3 separate regions of the Homo sapiens genome follow, and regions 1 and 2 are each linked to region 3. Evidence: promoter capture Hi-C in human tissues and cell types (Jung and others, 2019). All regions are on one chromosome and are shown on one strand. Each heading gives the region's core, a stretch centred on a gene start or on the middle of the fragment in contact. The rest is flanking DNA. Distances are from core to core; before and after follow the strand shown. Region 1 holds the start of UBE2Z (ubiquitin conjugating enzyme E2 Z). Region 2 holds the start of HOXB-AS2 (HOXB cluster antisense RNA 2). Region 3 holds the start of HOXB13 (homeobox B13).

Region 1 (4,811 bases), core at 436-2,935, 180 kb before region 3:
GGACTTGCTAGGGTGGGTAGGGACATAAAAAGGGCAAATAGGCGACAAAGCAGAGGAAAGCATTGGCCAAACTCAAAGGTATGTCAGAATTGGATGACTGAAATGGCTGGAGGAGGAAAAGAGTTGAGTGCTGAGTTTCAGTTAGAGGTGGCAATCCCTCCACAGTTGACCTCCTGTGTCAGGCACTGTGCCAGGTACTTTACACACATTATATTAATTTTTATTACAACCTTGAAAAGTAGACACAGAGACATCTGAAAGGACGTGGAACATGGGGAATAAGAACTAAACGAAGATGCTTGTGATGGGGGCATGGGGAGAAGTCAAACAGGTTTCAGGATTAATAGCTAAAGAGCACTGCCCTTTTCTTATGCGATAGGTACTATTCTATGTGCTTCTGGAAAACATCATCTACTAAATGATAGGATCTAAGATCAGTCACCCAAGAAATAAGCACAGAAAGGACTTAGGCCTTTGTTCCTATATTTGATGAGTATATTTGCTTCATAGAAGTAAAACAGACGACCCGGGGAGGGTGGGGGGTGGGGGGAGGGAAATTACAAGAAAGAAGCTCCTGAGTGGGATATTACAATCCAGAGTGGCACTGGGGAATTGGGGGGAGGTAGCCTGTGTTTCTGGAAGAGGCGTAAGAGTGGACAGCTTTGGGACACTGGAAAAGGGGTTCAAGGAAAGATTGGGGCGAGGGAAGCGATCTAGACCTGGGAAAAGACTGTGTGGAGGGAATCTGAGAAAAACGGAGGATAAAAAGAAAGGTTGGCTCGAGTCAGAGGCATGGCAAAGGAAGCTGAGTTCGTCTGTGTTAGGAACGGGGCTCCAGAGGAGAAGAGAGGGGACCGATGGGTGGGGCCTGCGGGCAGCATCTAGCAAGGTTGGGGTGGGGAAGGGGAAATAGGGGCGGCGCCGAAGGCGGGAGGGGGCGTTACTGAAGCGCTAAAGGGTCGGGTTTCCACCCGGAGGTGGGAGGTGTGGGGGAGGGTGGCCGGAATGGAGACGGAGGGCTCACGGGAGGTTGTCGAGGGGCGGGGTCGGATCTGGGCACACGAGGCGGGGGTTGGTGCTTGCGGGTCTGAGGGTGGGGGGAGAAGGGAGTTGGATCCCGACGCCCGGAGCTGGCAAGATTTGGGCCGTGGAGGTGGGCCGCCGCGAGGGCAGCGCAGTGGGTGGGGGGTGAGTTGTAGTGGGAGAGGGTGGGGGGCGGGGAAGGTCGAGCCCCGGAGCTCGGGGCTGGGGGAGGAAAAACCCCGGCTCACCGCTTGATCCGGAGTAGACACTGCGGCGCGGTGCGCTCGCCGTCCCAGTCGGAGCTGAGCGTGGGGTCCCAGTGGCTAAGCAGCGCGGCCCCGTGGGCAGCGGCTGAGGGCGGGAGCCCGGGCAGCGGAGCCAGGCCGCTCCCCGGGCCCCCGGCCCCGCCCGCTGCCGCCGCCGCCGCCCACACATCCGGCAGGAAAGGCGGCCCGAACCCGCCGCCGCTGCCGCTAACGCCAACAACACCAGCAACGCTGCTCGCCCCGGGGCCCGCCGCCCCGGCGCCCGCCGTTGCCGCCTCCTCAGTCGGACTCTCCGCCATCGCTGCTTCGCTTCCGGGACTACTCGGCAGCACGTCCGCCGACCAGAGCGGCCGCTGCTCCCGCCCGCTCCCGCACCACCGAGAACCGGGCCAGAGTGTCCCCACCCCCTCCGCTTCCACAGCCCAGACGGTGCTGGCTCCGCCCACCCCCGCCCCAACCAGCGAGAGGCGCTCTGCAAGAGCGTCCACCTACGGTCCTCCAGGACGGGAGGGGTGGGAACTAGCAGGCCGTGATGGTTCTGGGCTCGTGTGGGTCCTGCGCTGTGCGGAAGTAGCGGAGAGCCCAATTCAAGTGTTGAAAGGGGAGAAGAGAGGAGGGAGTGGGGGAGGAAGGGCCATATCATTCCCGTTAATGGCGGCGACCCTCAGACGTCTGCATGGTTAGGATTGGGGATCCAGCATCCTCATGGGAAGCTCAGTAGAGAAGTTGACTCGCTTTGGGCCCCTTCTCTCGGAAAGGCTCTGCGATTGATCCCTCCTGCACACTTGTGCACCTAGGGCAGGGTACCATTGCCCTTGCCTGCAACAGGACCAAGAGAGAACTCAACTTGGAATGAAAAGCTACCTCTTTTAGAGTTTATTCAACATATATTTATGAAGGGCCTACTAAATGCCAGTCACTGTTGCTAGTTGTTGCCATGGGGATAATGAAACAGAACTAGAGAAGCTTGGTGAAAGGAAGAAACATCAGGCCTCCTGACTCCAAGCTTAGTACTTTTTCTTCCCACAAATCTTGGAATATACAGGAATCGAGGTACTGTGAGTGTAAACCCTGAGGATTCTTTGGGTCTTTCCTAAAATGTTTAAAGTGAAAAATAATCTGCCAGGCTCGGTGGCTCACGCCTGTAATCCCAGCACTTTGGGAGGCCGAGGTGGGCGAATCACGAGGTTAGGAGTTCGAGACCAGCCTAACATGGTGAAACCCCGCCTCTATTAAAAATACAAAAATTAGCCGGGCGTGGTGGCGTGCACCTGTAGTCCCAGCTACTCAGGAGGCTTAGGCAGGTGGATCACTTGAACCCGGGAGGCGGAGTTTGCAGTGAGTTGAGATCACGCCACTGCACTCCAGCCTGGGCGACAGAGCCAGACTCCGTCTCAAAAAAAAAAAAAAAAATTCCTATGGACTAAGAATGACAGGGGCCTTCCTAAAAAACTGTTTTTCCTTGCCGGGCGCGGTGGCTCATGCCTGTAATCCCAGCACTTTGGGAGGCTGAGGCGGGCGGATCACTAGGTCAGGAGATCAAGACCATCCTGGCTAACACTGTGAAACCCCGTCTCTACTAAAAATACAAAAAATTAGCCGGGCGTGGTGGCGGGCGCCTGTAGTCCCAGCTACTCGGAAGGCTGAGGCAGGAGAATGGCGTGAACCCGGGAGGCGGAGCTTGCAGTGGGCGGAGATCGTGCCACTGCACTCCAGCCTGGGCGACAGAGCAAGACTCCGTCTCAAAACAAAAACAAAAACTTTTTTCCCTAGCAAAAATATAGGATCAATATTAACTGGAAACCAGTGGGGCCAGATGTATTTCAGACTTTGGAATGACACACCAAGCAAGGAGTGGGGCAGCGCCGGGTAGCCAAACCTATTGACATTTCTGCATCAAAGTGTATGAACATTCGTACCAAGTCAAATGAATAGCCTCACTTTGGATGTTTTGCCACCAAGTTTGGTTTTTTAAAAAAGAAGTCTGGGCCGGGCACGGTGGCTCACGTCTGTAATCCCAACAATTTGGGAGGCCGAGGTGGGTGGATCACCTGAGGTAAGGAGTTCGAGACCAGCTTGACCAATATGGTGAAACCCCGTCTCTACTAAAAATACAAAAATTAGCCGGGTGTGTTGGCAGGCGCCTGTAGTCCCAACTACTCAGGAGGCTGAGACAGAAGAATCACTTGAACCCGGGAAGGAGAAGTTGCAGTGAGCCGAGACTGAGTCACTGCACTCCATCCTGGGTAAAAGAGTGAGACTCCGTCTCAAAAAAAAGAGTCTGGCTTTAGAGTTTTTTTGTTTTTTGTTTTTTGTTTTTAAAGAGGGAATCTTGCTCTTGTCACGCAGGCTGGAGTGCAATGGCGCAATCGTGGCTCACTGCAATCTCCGCCTCCTGGGTTCAAACAATTCTCCTGCCTCAGCCTCCCCAGTAGCTGAGATTACAAGCATGCCTCTATGCCTGGCTAATTTTTTGTATTTTTTTAGTAGAGGCGCCTCTACGCCTGGCTAATTTTTTGTATTTTTTTAGTAGAGGCGAGGTTTCACCATGTTGGCCAGGAAGGTCTCCAACTCCTTTTGGAGTTGGATCAAGTCATCCGCCCTTCTCGGTCTCCCAAAGTGCTGGGATTACAGAAGTCATCCACCCACCCCACCCTTCCTGCCTTTTAGAGTTTTATGAATTTACAGTAATGGAATGCAGACCTGAAGGATAATGACCAAGATTTATGGAGAGCTAAAGATTGATTTGTTTTGAGACAGGGTCTTGCTCTGTCACCCAGACTGGAGTGCAGTGATGGGATCACAACTCACTGCAACCTCTGCCTCAGCCCTCCAAGTAGCTGGGATTACAGACACGTGCCACGATGCCCGGCTAATTTTTGTATTTTTCTGTAGAAGCGAGGTTTCACCATGTTGCCCAGGTTGGTCTCGAACTTCTGGGCTCAAGCAGTCCTTCCGCCTTGGCCTCCTAAAGTGCTCGGGATTACAGGCGTCAGCCACCGTGCTTGGCCTAAAAAATTATTTTTTTAGCAGACATTTATTGAGTGTTTAATATGTGGCAGGCATTTTGTATACTTTGGCTTTATTCCTTTCAACACTCAGTGAAGTAGTAGGTACTATTATTTATTTATTTTTATTTTTTTTTTGGTTTGGAGTCTTGCTCTGTCGCCCAGGCTGGAGTGCAGTGGCGCGATCTCGGCTCACTGCAAGCTCCACCTCCAAGGTTTACACCATTCTCCTGCCCTAGCCTCCCAAGTAGCTGGACTACAGGCGCCCACCACCACGCCTGGCTAATTTTTTATATTTTTTGTAGAGATGGGGTTTCACTGTGTTAGCCAGGATGGTCTTGAACTCCTGACCTTATGATCCATCCGCCTTGGCCTCCCAAAGTGCTGGGATTACAGGCGTAAGCCACCGCACCTGGCCTTAGGTACTATTATTAATCTGGTCTGATAGATGGAAAAACAGACTTACAGAGGTTCAGTGAATTACATGGGGTCATGCTGAGAGCAAGTCGCATAA
Region 2 (4,313 bases), core at 1,320-3,819, 170 kb after region 3:
CTTATTGGAGAGCTGGAGATGGGGATCCAAATGCCAAGAGCCTTCTTCATTAGCAATTCCCACTTTACAACTCCCAGCTTTGAAATCTTCGTTAATACTTAGGGGAAAATGGAGATTCGGGTGAGTGTGTGACCTTTACACCACTTTTCTAGGGCTACAAAGTTGGGCAGTGAAGCTGGAAAACAGTGTGGGACTGGGAACCCAGACAGGGCCAGGAAGAAACACATCGCCAAACATCTCGCCCCAGGCTTACAGGTCCTAGCTCCCAAGCTAGCCTTTGGGCCAGGCAAATTTTGTGTGGATTGAGCCAGGGGCAGGATCCTTGACTGCCCCAAGTCTGAGATCAGAAATTGGTTTTAAAAGAGCCAACCAGTATGCCCTTATTGAGAGAATTTTTGTTTGCTAGTTGATGCATTTTTGGGGGAGGAGAGAAACAGGCACGATCCCGCCGCCGAGGTCTAGAAGGGCGGGTAGCCCTTGATTGTTCCAGAGGGTTTAAAGTGCTCCCGTCGCCTGATACTGGGTACCCAGTGGGGTGGGGGAGAGAAGTGCCAGAGCGAGTGCTCTGGCTCTGAAGAAACGGAATGGAAGAGGAAAAGATGTCTGTGAAGAAGGGCATTTTCTCTAATCTTTACCCTTATTATTTTTTTACTTCATTAGTTTATGCTAGTGTCTCTGTCTCTTACTCAATTTTCCTCTTTTTCAATTTCTCTTTCTCCTCCTTTCTCTCTCTCTCTCTCTCACACACACACACACCCTACACACATGGGCACACACACACAGTTTTCCAGGTTTCCCTCCCAAATCCAAGAAGAAATTGTTCCCTCTTCTGTATCTCCAGTCTGTTCCGAAATCATGGCTTCACTCTCAGGGATGATAAGCCCTTCTCCTGCTTCTCTTTTCCCAGACCCCAAAGTCTTCCCTCAGCCTGCTCTGGCGTCCCCCACCCCAAGTTCCCTGCTCAAACTCCTCACTACCAGCCTTTATCCCCTGAAGTTTGAAAATCCCCTGGCTAGCAGCAACACCTCAGTCCAAACAGGGGCCCTTAGGGGTGCCTGTTCCACCCTCCGTCCTCCAGCCTCCCAGCCCTAATCAGAGGGCAGCCCGCCTGCTCGCCAGAGACCTCTGAGAATGGAAGAAAAAAGGCAAGACAGAAACTAAACTGGGATCTAATTGCCTCCCAAGTATTCCAAATGGGCTCTGTACTCCAGAATTAAGAAGCCCCCACTCCATCTCCTACCGCATTTGGGGGTATATGTCCTCTGAGATTTTCTCCAGGTTCATTTTCTTGCTTCTCGGTCCTCTTTTTCACTCCCACCCCACTATGCCCCACTGCCTTCTGTAGCCCGAGGGACCACAAAGAGTTGAGGAGGCTTGGGGAAGGGAGGGGTCTGCTGTTGTCTCTGGAACACTCCTCCACTCCCAGCTCAGCTCCAGGCCCGCTTCTCCTGCAGCCGGCCCGAGGCTGCCTGGGTGCCTTCTGGACTCTCGTGTTATTCCTAGAGGCAAAGCTGCGCAGTCCCAAAAGCGATCAGGTTCTCCTCTTCTCTCAGTTTTACAATGACCTTCTCTAACCCAATGATAGTAACAGCTAGGACAGCAGAGGTTTTGAGGTACATTCTTGGCTTTTTTTTTATTTGGGGGAGTGATAGAAAAAAAAACCCCAAAGGTACTGGTTTCTTTAAGCCTCTGGAAGCCTCCCTGGCCTGAGTCCCTGACCCACCAAGCTCAAAGTTACATGGGGTCTGACCCTGTAGGTCTCTAACCAGAGTGTAGAGATCTCAGGACAGACTTTTTGCAGCCACATGCTCAGGCACCCCTAACAGGTCTCTTTGGGGTTCCAGGCTGGCTTGAGCCCCAAGTCTAGGTCTGACTTGGATGTTTTATTTTCTTGATACTACTAATAAACACAGAAAAATACTAATAAACACAGAATAATAGCTAATAAACACAGAAAAATAGCTCCCACCCTCCATCCCCATGTCCCCCAACCCGTGCTTCCCCCCAGCTGTCAACTTTCTAGGTGGGAGGTGGGGTCCTCAGGACATTACATTCTGAGGCTCTGCAAGTGGCTTCTGTTGCTGGAGGGCAGGAAGGCCATAGGTACCCCCAGTTTATCAGGGCCCCTGGAAACCGGCTGCTCCAAATCACCTGGCCTGACTTAGCCTTGCCTGGAAGAAGTAGGGGCTGGAGGCCAGGGGCCACTCCCTATCTCATCCCAAAGTAGAGCCTGTGAGTGGGGAGAGAGAGGGAATGAGGGAAGCTTTGCCAGACACCTCCAACCTATGCTGGAGGGAACACAAAAGCTGGAAATCAACTCTCACCTTTGTTGTCCCCAGTCCCGTTCCCTCTTCTGGTGCATCCAGATGGGAGAAGGCAAAAGCCAAGTATTCTAACCAGGAAATCACAGGGTAGTGCCTTACATGAAGTTAAGAGGACCAGTTTTCCAAGCTGCCTTTAGAGAAAAGAGTCAGCTTTCTATTTCATCCCCTAGCTCCGAGTCAGCAGTTAGGCAGAGTTGCAAACACTCCTGCTTTGGGAAATGTCCTGGTGCTCTTTTTGTCTTTTCCTTCCTCCCGGAATGACTATTCCCCACCCCCTGTCCCAAATCTGCAGACACCTACATTTTTGGCTCCTGTCTTCCTCCTACAGGCCTCCTCCTTGCCTTTTCCTGCCCTGCTCAAACACACCCTAAGAAAACTTTAGCTTTTGTGGCCTTCCTCACTTGTGCCAAGAGTCATAAATCTTGCAGGGCAGAGAGAAACAAACAGGGTTGTTCTGAATAATAATAATAACCATCTTCCATCTCTTCTGCCAGTGCATTTAAAATTAAGCGACCCTGCTAGTTCTTCTCTTCTTAGAAGTACAAATGTCCTTATCACCTCTTAGCCCCTTCTGCCTATTCGGAGGTGAGAATCATAACAGAAACTTATCCATGAAGTTCTTTCAGCCCGTCTACTGCCAGCCAGTCTGGAGCTCAAACTAAAACACAGAGTCCTCCTTTTGTCACCCTTTTCTCAACCCTCCTCCCCCTGCAAGATGTTCAGAGTTTTTAAAATCATCACTCACCGCTTGTTGTCTGTTCTCAAAAAGAAAAAGGGGGAGGGGTGTTTTTTTTTTTTTTTTTTTTTTAAGTTCTGGTCTTTCCCTCTCCCTTGGTTAGAGACTGGGCCTGGAGACTGGAGGGAGATTTGGGAGGAATAGAGAGGGTGTAGTGGAGGGAAGAAGCCGGGGCTGGAGACTCAGAAGGAGGGAGCCAGAGTGTGAGGGTTGGAGACCCAGAACTACTTTCTAAAAAAGTCCTGGTGTTCCAATTGCGAATGAGTGCAGAGGGGCACCCGGCACCCTCACCCCCGGGCCAGGCCTGCCTTTGACTCAGCCTCCAAATACTACTTCTCATATTAGCATAATAGTTCACTAGTGGGGTATGGGGGGAGCTGTGAACTTCACCGCCCTTCCTTGCCTTTGCTCACCTCTTCCTCCCTGTCCCTCCAATCTAGATTTAAATTTTTACCTGTTCTTTAAGGAAAAAAAAAAAACCCTCCTTCTTTTCTTCTTACTCTTTTTTTGGGGAGGCGGGTATTTTAAAATTTCCCCCCTTCCCCATCACCACCATCACCTTCCCTCCTTATCAGGCATCTAAGCTTGCTAAAGGGGGAGAGGTGGGGGGGTGTGAGCTTGTGTGTGAGTGAGTGTGTGTGTGTGTCTGTGTGGTTTTTTTTCCCTGTGCAAAAGCAGAGGCCATTGTTACGGAGAGTAGGGCGTACCAGTCTTATAGGGCAACCACACTGTGGCGGCTTAGCCCTGCTGGAGCCCGGAGCTGGATTCTGGCGAGCTGAGCCGCCCGGCACCTTTCGGTCTTCTATTTTTTTTCCCGCTCCCCCACCCCCTCCCTCCTGCGCACCCCTGCTCCTAAGCCGAGTGAATTGAAGCGGACGCCGCGCGGCTCCTCTGGCCGGTCTGCCCCTCGGGCTCCCCAGCCGGGGTGGCTTTGCGGGGCGGGGGCGGGGGGGCGGGGGGCGACGCAGCTTTAAACAGTGGTCTTTTTTTCCTTTGCCTTCAAGGAGGGGAGATTTGTCGCCTGCCGCTCGCTCTGGGGCTCGATGTGAATATATATTATGTCTGCCTGTTCTCCCCTCGTCGGTGGCTAAGGTAAGCTGGACTGAAATAGGCTATCAGTTTGTGAATGGCGGAGAGTATGTCTCAATGATTTATGGCCCATATGACTCCAATCTCGGTTCAAGAAGAGTTCACAAGCTTTAAGCTTCCTTCCACGCAGCGACTCTCTCTCTCCCTCCCTCCCTCCCTCCCTC
Region 3 (4,780 bases), core at 2,062-4,561:
ACAGGAGGGTCTCCAGCACAGCTGGTGACCTTCACTCCCGCCAAGTTTAAGTTAACCATCTCTGCATTCCACAACACTGCAGTTACATGCACTTGGCTACTTATTTCAATGAACATGGATAAGAATGCTATACATCCAAAAGCACAGTTTCAGGAAGTGTTGCAATGAATTAAAAAAATTTTTGTTTTTAATTATTTTCCTTAACATTTGAGATATAGCTGATATGCAATAAAGTGCAGAAATACCAAGTGTATAGCTTGATGAATTTTCACAGTGAACAAAGTCTTGTAACTAGCAGACAGATTGAGATGGAGACTATTTCCAGCACCCCAGAAGGCTTCTTTATGTCCTTTTCCAGTCAGGAGACCTCTCCCCATGCCAATCTCTATTCTGACCTCTATCACTATACCATAATTTTGCTTGTCATTGAACTGCATAGAAATGTAGAAACTGAATCATACAAAAGTTACTCTTTTGTGTCTGGCTTCTTTCATCCACATATCTGTGATTCATCAATGTTGTGTGTAGTAGTGGTTTATTCTTTTTCAAATGGCTGTGTAGTACTTCATTGTATAATTATACTGTGCTTTCTTTATTCATGCTACTGCTGATAGACTTTTGGGTTGTTTCTAGTTTTGAGCTACTATATTTTGATTTCATTATGAGATGGGGTATCCCTATTATCCCTATTACCCCTGTTGCCCAGGCTGGTTTTTTTTTTTTTTTTTTTTTTTTTTTTTTTTTTTGAGATGGAGTCTTGCTCTGTCACCCAGGCTGGAGTGCAGTGGCACGATCTCGGCTCACTGCAAACTCTGCCTTCCAAATTCAAGCGATTCTCCTGCCTCAGCCTCCTGAGTAGCTGGGGTTATAGGTGTCCACCACCACAATTGGCTTTTTTTTTTTTTTTTTTTGTAGTTTTAGTATAGAGAGAGTTTCACCATGTTAGCCAGTCTGGTCTCGAACTCCTGACCTCAAGTGATCCACCTGCCTTGGCCTCCCAAAGTGCTGGGATTACAGACCTGAGCCACTGTGCCTGGCCCCAGGCTAGTCTTGAACACCGGGGCTCAAGCGATCTTCCCACCTCCACTAGGATTAGTAGCTAGGATTACAGGCGTGCGCTGCCATGGGTGGCTTTGAGCAACTACAGATAAAGCTGCTGTGGACCTACTAGTACATGACTTTTGATGGATATAAAGGTTCATTTCTGTTGGGTTTATGCCCAGGAATGGAATTGCTGGGTCATAGGGCATGACTATGACTATTATTATTTTTTAAATTTAGGGATCTATTAATGCCTCTACTGTACAAGGATGAATAAATGTGCATGTGTGGGTGTTTGCCTAGTGGAAACTAAAACTGTGGACATGCCCTACATATCTATCATCTACCAAGTAAAAATTGGTGAAAAATTCTTAGTCTTTAGGTAAAAGTCTGGATATTTCTGCAGTTCATAATTAGACAAGCAAGAAACTCTGGTGAGAAACTGGAAAGCACTGAAGAGACATCTCCTCCCTTTTCTTCCATATTGTTTTCAAATGCGATCTAGTGAAGATTTCGTGCTTGGTGTCTTCAATTATAGCAATGCTCATTAGGAGTGATGTACACTACTGCCTGTGGGCCCTTTCCCACAAAGTGGCTCAAGTTCAAGGTCAGGTTGGTGAGAGGCTATGATTGAGTCTGCCCAGAGTTTAGGGTAAGCCATTCCATATAATTGTCAAGACCCTCGTGTAGAATGGAAACATTCCTGTCTTCTCCAGAAAAACTGGGAGTTCTAGAAAAAGCAGACAGAAGGATTTGATTTGGGAGGGGTAGTAAAGGAAGCGGAAAACCTCTAAAGACAGATTTGTGAAACAAACCGTTTGATTCTTCTGAATTGCACTGCACATTAGGCCCCAACAGAGGGGCCTCAAGCAATTCTGCCAGTGGCTGGGGTTTCCCCTTCCATTCCCTTTTCCTTGTAAGGAAGTTTAAAGCTTGCAGGAGGCAGATAGGGGTCTTGGGCTTTCTGGGTACTCAGCTTGTGTGGGAGTATGCCAGTATCAGGGACAGTTTCCTGGGCCCCTTGCAGACCATAGGGAGAGGACTGCAGGGCAGGGAGACTGGCATCTCCACACAGGCGTCTGTATTCTTGGGGTCCAGAACTCCCGCAGCTGGTTTCTGGCAGTCAGCCAGGCTTGGCTTCCTCAGACTTCTTTAGATCCCAAAAAAGGGGGAAAGTGCCTCTCTTCTTTCTCTTTTCTGACTGACACTTCAGGATTTTACAAGATTTTGTCCCATCCGCTCTGTCAGCTTCTCTCTTTCCCTCTTTGTGTTGCTGTCCCTGAGTCTCATCTCTCCCTCTCCCCGTCCCTCCCTCAAGTCCTGTGGGTCTCCGTCCCTCCGTATGTCTTTACTTAAAGGGAAATCCAGACCCTTCCACAGGCCACTCTAGAGGCTCCATTTCCCCTTCAGGTCCGGAAGTGGAGTGTCCTGGGTTCCATCCAGATCGCATGTCTTCTACGTCTACGTTCGTGTCTCCCGCCTCTTCCCTCAGCCTCACCCGAATCAGGGCCTCCAGAGCATTCTGGGCAGTAGCGAGTCCCTGGGTAAGGGGCGTCCAGGGCACCTCCCTGGGGCCCGGAGCAGCTCATTCCAGGACATCTGGGACAGGAAGGGTACCGGGAATGAACTGGGGTGCTAGTACCCAGGACCCAAAGCCAGGGGCTGCCAGAAATACCTATTAACCCCCATTTCCCAGCCTCCTCTTACACAGGCGCATTCCCGGGTTCTCCTCTGAGGCCGGGAGCGGCCTCCCAGCCCCACCCCCGACTCCCCTTCCCCCCCAGGAGATGGACACTTTATAGAGAGAGCTTTTTATTCTCTCGTTAAACCTGTCAAAGCGCAGGAGACAGAAAGCTAGGGAGGGAGAGGAGGAGAAGGAGGTGGGGCCCGGCTCCTCGTCCCCTCTTCCTCCGCCCACCACGCCTCCCCTCCCCCCGGACGTGTAAATGAGACTCTGCAAACTGGAAAGCAGCGAAAGGACACCTCCTTCCTTTTCTCTCTTGTTGTTTTTAAGTGGAATGAGAGAGAGAGGAGTGGAGAGGGAAAAGAAGAGAGAGAGGGAGAAGAGAGAGAGGAGAGAAAGAGCGAGAGAGCGAGAGAGAGAGACAGAGACAGAGAGAGAGAGAGAGAGAGAGAGAGAGAGAAAGAGAGAGAGAGAGAGAGAGAATAAGCTGGGGTAAAGTATTTTCGCAGTTTCTGCCTTTAGGATTTTATTAGCTTCTCTCCCCCAGGCCGCAGCCAATCAGCGCGCGTGCCCGGGCCCCTGCGTCTCTTGCGTCAAGACGGCCGTGCTGAGCGAATGCAGGCGACTTGCGAGCTGGGAGCGATTTAAAACGCTTTGGATTCCCCCGGCCTGGGTGGGGAGAGCGAGCTGGGTGCCCCCTAGATTCCCCGCCCCCGCACCTCATGAGCCGACCCTCGGCTCCATGGAGCCCGGCAATTATGCCACCTTGGATGGAGCCAAGGATATCGAAGGCTTGCTGGGAGCGGGAGGGGGGCGGAATCTGGTCGCCCACTCCCCTCTGACCAGCCACCCAGCGGCGCCTACGCTGATGCCTGCTGTCAACTATGCCCCCTTGGATCTGCCAGGCTCGGCGGAGCCGCCAAAGCAATGCCACCCATGCCCTGGGGTGCCCCAGGGGACGTCCCCAGCTCCCGTGCCTTATGGTTACTTTGGAGGCGGGTACTACTCCTGCCGAGTGTCCCGGAGCTCGCTGAAACCCTGTGCCCAGGCAGCCACCCTGGCCGCGTACCCCGCGGAGACTCCCACGGCCGGGGAAGAGTACCCCAGCCGCCCCACTGAGTTTGCCTTCTATCCGGGATATCCGGGAACCTACCAGCCTATGGCCAGTTACCTGGACGTGTCTGTGGTGCAGACTCTGGGTGCTCCTGGAGAACCGCGACATGACTCCCTGTTGCCTGTGGACAGTTACCAGTCTTGGGCTCTCGCTGGTGGCTGGAACAGCCAGATGTGTTGCCAGGGAGAACAGAACCCACCAGGTCCCTTTTGGAAGGCAGCATTTGCAGGTACCTCTATTACCCTGGGTCCCCTTGTCTCTGAGCCTGGGGTTGTGGGTCCCAATGGCATTTCCCTGGGAGGAGGAGGAGGGAGACTTGGAGCTGGTGAGGATGAGCTTGGTGCTCCTCCCTTGGTTATTAGGACTCTGAAGGAGGTCTGAGTAGCTGGAGGGCCTGGATGGAGGTCAGTGTGAGGGGCCTGAGCTGGGTGCTATCTGAAGCCTGAAGGCCACCTCACTTCTCCAGGAGGCCCTGGGACCAGCCTTTCAACATGTCTGAGAGGTTTAGATCTCTTTGCTGTTGAGTGGGGATCAGGGTGTCCCTACCCAGCACAATTCCAAACTAATTCTACACAAAAGCTAAATAACTCTCAATTCGGTGCGTGGGGAGTGGGTGTGGGAGATGGGTAAAAAGGTATTGGATGTACTGTAGAGAATACAACCTCTCACTTTCTATTAGATGAGTTTTCCAATTTCCAAAGAAAAATTTAGGTTTCCTGCAGCCGTGACATATGTGTGTGCACTGGGATGGGTTAATGTGTGTGTGTGTGTGTGTATGCGCATGTATTGGGAGTGGGGGCAGAAACGTGTTTCCAGAATTTGCCTGTAGAATCTAAAAGAGTGGCCAAGAGTCTGGAAATGCATGAAGACTGGACGTATGTGATGGTGGGCAAAGGCCTGACTGTGTGTGGTGTGTGGGTATGTTTGCAGATTCGCGGGTG

What was found. Contacts are between HindIII fragments. The study calls those that stand out against the background at their distance.
Region 1: a contact is called between the fragment with the promoter of UBE2Z here and the fragment with the promoter of HOXB13 in region 3, in 1 of the 25 tissues and cell types used here (mesenchymal stem cells).
Region 2: a fragment that was not itself captured here is called in contact with the fragment with the promoter of HOXB13 in region 3 in 2 of the 25 tissues and cell types used here (H1 embryonic stem cells and mesendoderm cells).

The regions. Positions count from the first base shown.
Region 1 is chr17:48,905,281-48,910,091 of GRCh38, reverse strand. UBE2Z (ubiquitin conjugating enzyme E2 Z) reads right to left here and starts at 1,685. Exons shown (of 7, transcript NM_023079.5): 1 at 1,272-1,685. The coding sequence starts at 1,588. LOC105371814 (a long non-coding RNA gene) reads left to right here and starts at 1,109. Exons shown (of 4, transcript NR_135674.1): 1 at 1,109-1,153. RefSeq lists an enhancer at 1-23 and silencers at 897-1,026, 1,297-1,546. The HindIII fragment of the contact is 7,727 bases long and covers 1-4,521 here.
Region 2 is chr17:48,555,370-48,559,682 of GRCh38, reverse strand. HOXB3 (homeobox B3) reads left to right here. Exons shown (of 5, transcript NM_001384749.1): 3 at 4,065-4,152. It overlaps HOXB-AS2 (HOXB cluster antisense RNA 2), which reads right to left and starts at 3,526. Exons shown (of 2, transcript NR_046610.1): 1 at 2,325-3,526; 2 at 1-97. The HindIII fragment of the contact is 5,652 bases long and covers 1-4,313 here.
Region 3 is chr17:48,727,281-48,732,060 of GRCh38, reverse strand. It overlaps HOXB13 (homeobox B13), which reads left to right and starts at 3,311. Exons shown (of 2, transcript NM_006361.6): 1 at 3,311-4,068. The coding sequence starts at 3,468. The HindIII fragment of the contact is 5,391 bases long and covers 1-3,826 here.